Linked DNA regions of Homo sapiens: region 2 is linked to region 1. Evidence: promoter capture Hi-C in 16 types of primary human blood cells and fetal thymus (Javierre and others, 2016). All regions are on one chromosome and are shown on one strand. Each heading gives the region's core, a stretch centred on a gene start or on the middle of the fragment in contact. The rest is flanking DNA. Distances are from core to core; before and after follow the strand shown. Region 1 holds the start of ZNF620 (zinc finger protein 620). Region 2 overlaps CTNNB1 (catenin beta 1).

Region 1 (3,793 bases), core at 194-2,693:
AGTGAAAATACTATAGATTTTATAAAATGAACTGTTTCTGTGACAGTTAAAATCTCTGTGCTAGGTGGCCCCACAATGGCTCCCAATGGTTCTCATATCCTGGCATTCAAACCTTGTGTATCTCTTCCCACACTGAATCATGACTAATCTGAGGAGAATGTATTGAGGAAATCATGATGCATGATTTCCAAAACTAGGTCATAAAAGCTTTGGCCTTGGCCTCTTGGATTGCTCACTTTGGGAGAAAGCTACATGCCATGTTGTGAAAACCCTCACATGGGAAGGAACTGACGCTTCCTGCCAACAACCAGCACCCACTTGACAGCCATGTGAGTAAACCACCTTGGAGGTGGATCCTCCAAACTCAGTCAAGCTTCAGATGACTTCAGCCCCACATGACACCTGACTGCAACCTCAGCAGAGACCCTCAGCCAGTACCACCCAGCCAAGCTGCTCTTGAATTCTGGGTCCACAGAAACTGTCAAAAGATAACAATGTTTATTGTTTTTAGCCACAAAGCATTAGAGTAGTTTATTATCCAGCAGTAGATACATAATATACTCTCCATGGCAGGACTTGTTTTGAAAGTGGTGGATAAATCTAATTCCTGTGGAAGGAATAACTAAAATCTGTTTCCAGGCTGGGCCGGGACACACATCCCAGTACAGGGCAGGAAAGGGCTCTAAGCCAAATGTTAATAGCTCTTTCGCTAAACTTCGAAAATTGTCCTTAAAAAAATCTATTTCCCTAAAGCACGCCACATATTGGAGTCCCAGCAGCACCTATTTTGTGTCTTCAAAAAACACAATTGGAAAACAAAACAATACAAACTCACGAGTACATACTATGTGCCAGGCACAACTGTAAATAATTTACCTATCAATTAACTAATTTAATGAATTAACCCTGAACAGCCTCAAGAGGTTGGTACCACCATCATAATACCCATTTAATAGACAAGGAAACCGGGGCAAAGAAACTTGCTGCAGGTCACACAACTAGCAAGTGGTGCAGCTGGGTTTCTGGACCTACGTAGTCCATACACATTCGGCCTTCTGAGTAATGGGTTCGCCTTTCCCCACACCCACTTTTCCCACTGCAGCGCACCCACACAATCCAGACAGTTTTGGCGCATGTGAAGGGCGCGATGGTCCCTTCATTATCTGGAAGGACACCCAGAGTGGCAAATGCCAGATAACCACGAATAATACCCAGGATAGTAACCATTCTGTGGCCTGAGCTGGCCAGACGTCATGCCCCGAAGGAGCTACCAGGTGTGGGCGCTGCAGGACCCCTGCCTGGGGCCGCCCGCTCGGGCCCGTGTTGTCTCAGGCAGTAGGGACACTGGCGCTGACGGCGGGGGTAGGAAACCACAGAGACTGGCAACTTCCCAGGTTCCTAGAGAGGAGGGGCATGGAAAACGCACTTCCGGCGGAGGGTCTCAAGCTTTCCCCGGTGTCGGCGGCAGGTGGAATTTCCACGCTTTATCTGCGCCTGCGCCGCGCGGGATTCGCGGTCCGAGCTGAAGAGGTTCGCGGTCCGGGTAACTGATTGGTTTTCCTGGGGCTTGTTCTGCCTGGTTTTGCAACCCCTTTGCTTTTTGGGGTGAGGAGTTGGCGGAAAGGAGAGGGGCCCAAGTAGCACAGAGGGCATTTGCGGGGTGCGAGGCAGCATCAATCTCACCGGTGCTTCTTTATTTTCTCTTCAGTTTCACTTCTCCGAACCCTGAGGCAGTGTGTGAAGCTGGGACGCCAGCCATGTTCCAGACCGCTTGGCGCCAGGTGAGTGAGCATCCTCTCCCTCCCTCCCACCCTTTAGATGTCAAGAGAGAGCAGGTGTCACCTCTGCATTCAGATCTTGAGTTGTGTAGGCCAGTGGCTTCCATTGTGCATCTGTCACTATGAGAGGGATGGAGAGGTGAGAATGCCCAAATTAAGACTAGAAAACTAGTGAGTGTGGGGGGATTGGTTGGGATTTGGCATTTGAAGCCAGCTTAAAAATAAAAATTATGAAATGTGGAAATCTGCATTATTACATCCAATAAAGACCCCTTTCACCCTAGTCCGCAGGCTTGGAGAAGTACTTACTTCTTCAGTATAGCAATTCTAGTAACTGTTTTGTAGATTCCATTGTATTTTCTACATAGGTCATCTATGAGTAAAGATAGTTTTACTCCTTTCTTTCCAGTCTGGATGCCTTTTATTTTATTTTGTCTTGCCTTACTGCACTGGCTAGAAGCATTATTTCAATATTGAACAGAAGTGGTGAGAGCAGATATCTTTGTCTTATTTATGCTTTTAAAGTGAAAGCATTCAATCTTTCACACTGAAGACTGATGTTCACTGTAGGTTTCTTGCTTTTTTGTTTTGTTTTGTTTTGTAAATGTCCTTTATCAGGCATTCTCTTCTAGTACTACTTTGGTGAGAGTTTTTATAGGAATGGATGTTGGATTTTGACAATTGCTTTTTCTGTGTCTATTTAGATGACCATATGGTTTTTTTTTTTTTTTTTTTTTGAGATGGAGTCTTGCTCTATCGACAGGCTGGAGTGCAGTGGCGCGATCCTGGTTCACTGCACCCTCCACCTCTGGGGTTCAAGCGATTCTCCTGCCTCAGCCTCCCGAGTAGCTGGGACTACAAGCACGCGCCACCACACCCAGCTAATTTTTGTATTTTTAGTAGAGACCAGGTTTCACCATGTTGGCCAGGATGGTCTCGATCCCTTGACCTCGTGATTCCCCCACCTTGGCTTCCCAAAGTGCTGGGATTACAGGCGTGAGCCACCGTGCCCAGCCTCTCTTTGTTAATGTGGTGAATTACATGATTTTTCTTTCAAATATTAAACCAACTCTGCGGTGGGATAAAACCGACTTCGTCATGGTGTATTATTATTTTATTAGTACTATATATTGAATTTAATTTGTTAAAATTTTATTTAGAATTTCTGTATCTATGTTTATGAGGTATTGATTTGCAGTTTTCTTTTCTTGTGATGTCTTTGTTCCATAGAATGAGAAATATTCCCTCCTCTTTAATATTTTGGAAGAATTTATGTAGAGTTGACTGCATTTCTTCCTTAAATGTTTGGTAGAATTCAACAGTGAAGCTATCTAGGCATGGGGTTTTCTTTCTGATAAGGTTTTTAAGTACAGTTTTGAGTCCTTTGGTAGATACAGGGGCTACTCTGGTTATCTCTTTTTATTTATTTATTTTTATTTTTTGACAACGGTTTTCTCTATGTTGCCCAGGCTGACCTCAAATTGGGCTCAAGCAATCCTCCCCGCTCAGCCTCCCAGGTACCTGGGACTACAGGCATGCATCACTACGCCCAGCTTAAATGAGTTTTGGTAACTTGTGCCTTTCAAGGAACTTATCCATTTTATCTAAGTTGTAGAAATTATTCACATAAAGTTGTTCATAATATGTGCTTATCTTTTATTACCTGCAGTGATGTCACTTCTTTTATTACTAATATTAATGATTTGTGTATTCTCTCTTTTTTTCTGGTCACTGGCTAGAGGTTTATGAATTTTATTAATTTTTCTTTAAGAACTAGCTTCTGGTTTCATTACTTTTCTGTTTTATGTCATTAGTTTTCACTTTGATCTTTAATGTCTTTTTTATATTTATTTTGTGTTAAATTTGCTATTCTTTTTTTAGTTTTAAGGGGGAAGCTGAAGTCACAGATTTGAGATCTTTCTTTTTTTTTTGTTTTGTAAAATAGGCATTTAGTGCTATACATTTCCTCCCAAGTACCGCTTTAGCATTATCCCGCAAATTCTAGTACATGGTGT
Region 2 (3,839 bases), core at 1-2,500, 720 kb after region 1:
CGTGAGGGCTTACTGGCCATCTTTAAGTCTGGAGGCATTCCTGCCCTGGTGAAAATGCTTGGGTAAGAAAACATGTCAGAATGCTTGAAGCTAAAAAGTAGAAGAGTATACTCACAATATTTCTGATGAGGCTTTTTTCTTCTTCCCAGTTCACCAGTGGATTCTGTGTTGTTTTATGCCATTACAACTCTCCACAACCTTTTATTACATCAAGAAGGAGCTAAAATGGCAGTGCGTTTAGCTGGTGGGCTGCAGAAAATGGTTGCCTTGCTCAACAAAACAAATGTTAAATTCTTGGCTATTACGACAGACTGCCTTCAAATTTTAGCTTATGGCAACCAAGAAAGCAAGGTAAGAGAATTATTCTTTATGTGGTTTTCATGGAGCATTGGACACCTCCAGTGTCATGTCATTCCATGCAGTGTTCCTAACCTTTTTGGCACCAGGGACCAGTTTCGTGGAAAACAGTTTTTCCATGAATGGGTTGTGGGAATGGTTTCTGGATGACACCATTCCACCTCAGATAATCAGGCATTAGATTCTCATAGGGAGCGTGCAGCCTAGATCCCTCGCATGTGCAGTCCACACTAGGGTTTCTACTCCTATGAGACTCTCATGGTGCAGTTGATCTGACAGGAGGTAGAGCTCAAGCCAGGTAATGCTCGCTCACCTGCCACTTACCTCCTGCTGTGCAGCCCAGTTCATTTCTGTTCTTTTAAATTTTTGAGTTTCCATATGTAAAGCACTATGCGAAGTAGTAGGGATATGGTAGGCAAGCTTCTCTTCACACTTTTGTTCTTAGGTGGGATGTAGATGTTGGGAATAATAACCTAATATTTAATTTGTGTAGTGGGAAGAAGTGGGGCTATGAGGGCACATAACACAAGTTGAAACTGACTCTTTTTGAGGGTTCAAGGAGACCTCTTGGAGGAAGTGATAGTTGAGTTCAGTGTTCAAGGATGAGAAGGGATTCACTAGGTGAAGGTTAGGTGAGAAAACAACATCTTTGAAACGAAGGAAGGAGATGGAAAGTTTTGGGAATTTAAGAAATACTAATAGTAAGGAGGAAGAAAGGTTTGAGGTGAGGCTATTGAGATAGACTTAGCAGATCTCATAGGGCTTTGTAGAGCATGTTTAAAAGCACAATGGGAAATTTCAGCAGAAGCCTGAAATGATGAAATTTGTTTTTAGAAAATTGGGGCAGTGTTGAAAGGGAAGATATACAGGGAATGAAAGGACAAGCATGAATGATCATTTTATGGTATCTGTTTTTAAGGTGGATATAATTAGGAAAATTAAAGGGCCAAATGATGAGGAGTTAAGTGCCAGTTCTGGTTCAAATTTTCAGTGAATCAGTTTTGATATAACTTTCATCTTAGGGCATTACTCTTGCCTACCAACATAGTTTCTAAATTTTTTTCTTTTGGTGTGATCACTGTGGGAAGAAGGAAATTGGGCCCAAACTGATACATTGTTTGGAGGACTGGGATGTCTGAATTTGAGTGGAATGCTTTAAAAGGACAAGTTGGATAGGGCCCCAGTATGGGGGTCTGAGTGATGGGGTCCAGGAATACATTTAGGTCCAATGGCAAGCTGGCTGAAATTCTTGTATAATAAAATAGGTTGGTAATATGGCTCTTCTCAGACATGTGATCAAGATTCCTTGACTAACAAGATATATATATATATCTTTCTAGCTCATCATACTGGCTAGTGGTGGACCCCAAGCTTTAGTAAATATAATGAGGACCTATACTTACGAAAAACTACTGTGGACCACAAGCAGAGTGCTGAAGGTGCTATCTGTCTGCTCTAGTAATAAGCCGGCTATTGTAGAAGCTGGTAAGTATATGTATCTATTCTGAGTCTTGTGTATAGCATCTGCAGTTCTAATTAGATTACTTTTCTTAGGAAAAGGTGGTAGAACTTTAACTACTGAAAATAAATGGTCCTATTCAGTTTGCAGCCAAGATTTACATTCAGAGTACCTGTCATCTGGATTGTAGCTAAATATTTAAGGCTAGTTTAGGTAGAGTTCTTATTATCCATCAAAAATGATGGCATATGTTTTGCTTAATAAAATTTGTTTGTAATTTCAGTTTTGAGTAAACCTAAGATTTGCTAACAGAGCTGTGAATTTATAGGAGAAAAGACAAATTCTAATATAGTACAGTTTTATGTAAAGTGATTGCTTTATTAGTAGATGCTCATGAGCAGTTTTTGTTTTGTTTTAACTTTTAGGTTCCGGGTAATGTGCAGGCTTGTTATATAGGTAAATTGCATGTCACAGGGGTTTCGTGTGCAGATTATTTTGTCACCCAGGCAGTAAGTATTGTACCCAATAGGTAGTTTTTCAGTTCTTTACCTCCCACCCGTAAGTAGGCCCCAGTGTCTGTTGTTCCCTTCTTTGTGCCCGTGTGTACTCAGTGTTTACCTCCCACTTATAAGTGAGAACATGTGGTATTTGGTTTTCTATTCCTATGTTAGTTTGCTTAGGATAATGGCCTCCAGCTCCATCCATGTTGCTGAGGAAGACATCTTGGTATTTTTTTATGGCTGCTTAGTATTCCATAGTATATATGTACCACATTTTCTTTATCTAGTCTACCATTGATGGGCATTTAGGTTAATTCCATATCTTTGCTATTGTGAATAATGCTGCAGTGAACATATGCATGCATGTGTCTTTATGGTAAAAAGATTTCTTTTTCTTTGGGCATATACCTAATAATAGGATTGCTGGATTGAATGGTAATTCTGTCAGGTTTTTTGAGAAATCACCAAATTGCTTTCCACAATGGCTGAACTAATTTACTTTCCCACCAGCAGTGTATAAGCATTCTCTTTTCTCAGCAACCTCACCAGCATCTGTCATTTTTTGACTTTTTATTAGTAGCCATTCTAACTGGTGTGAGACGGTATCTCATTGTGGTTTTGATTTGCATTTCTCTAATGATCAGTGATGTCGAGCTTTTCTTCATATGTTTCTTGGCCACTTGTATGTCTTCTTTTGAAAAGTGTCTGTTCATGTCCTTTGCCCACTTTTTAATGGGGTTGTTCTTTTTTGCTTGTTAATTTAAGTTTATTGTAAACTCTGGATATTAGACCTTTGTCAGATGCATAGTTTGCCAGTACTTTCTCCCATGCCAGTACTTTCTCCCATTCTGTAGGTTGTCTGTTTACTCTGTTGATTTCTTTTGCTGCGCAGAAGCTCTTTATACTGTCCCATTTGTCAGTTTTTGTTTTTGTTGCAACTTCTCTTGGCATCTTCGTCATGAAATCTTTGCCAGGTCTTATGTCCAGAATGGTATTTCCTAGGTTATCTTGCAGAGTTTTTACAGTTTTAAGTTTTATATTTAAGTCTTTAATCCATTCTGAGTTGATTTTTGTACATCATGTAAGGATGGGGTGCAGTTTCAATCTTGGATGTGGCTAGCCAGTTATCCCAGCACCATTTATTGAATAGGGAGTCCTTTCCCCATTGCTTGTTTTTGTTTACTTGTTAGGTGTGCGGCCTAACTTCTGGGCTTTCTTTTCTGTTCCATTGGTCTCTGTGTCTGTTTGTATACCAGTACCATGCTGTGATTGTAACCTTGTATTAACAGTATAGCTTGAAGTTGGGTAAAGTGATTCCTCCAGTTTTGTTCTTTTTGCTTAGGATTGCCTTGGCTATTCAGGCTCTTTTTTGGGTTCATATGAATTTTTAAATAGTTTTTTTTTAATTATGTGAAGAATGCCATTGGTAGTTTGGTAGGAATAGCATTGAATCTGTGAATTGCTTTGGGCTGTATGGCCATTTTAACAATATTGATTCTTCCTGCCATGAAATAGAATGTTTT

Evidence for each region. Contacts are between HindIII fragments. The CHiCAGO score rates a contact against its expected background, and 5 or more counts as called.
Region 2: a contact is called between a fragment that was not itself captured here and the fragment with the promoter of ZNF620 in region 1, in 1 of 17 cell types (total B cells). The highest score is 7.4, in total B cells.

Annotation. Positions count from the first base shown.
Region 1 is chr3:40,504,596-40,508,388 of GRCh38, forward strand. It overlaps ZNF620 (zinc finger protein 620), which reads left to right and starts at 1,444. Exons shown (of 5, transcript NM_175888.4): 1 at 1,444-1,543; 2 at 1,709-1,781. The coding sequence starts at 1,758. The HindIII fragment of the contact is 1,073 bases long and covers 372-1,444 here.
Region 2 is chr3:41,225,511-41,229,349 of GRCh38, forward strand. CTNNB1 (catenin beta 1) reads left to right here. Exons shown (of 15, transcript NM_001904.4): 5 at 1-62; 6 at 150-351; 7 at 1,698-1,842. Among named protein-coding and RNA genes, the nearest start is that of CTNNB1, 28 kb to the left of the region's middle. RefSeq lists an enhancer at 1-97. The HindIII fragment of the contact is 951 bases long and covers 776-1,726 here.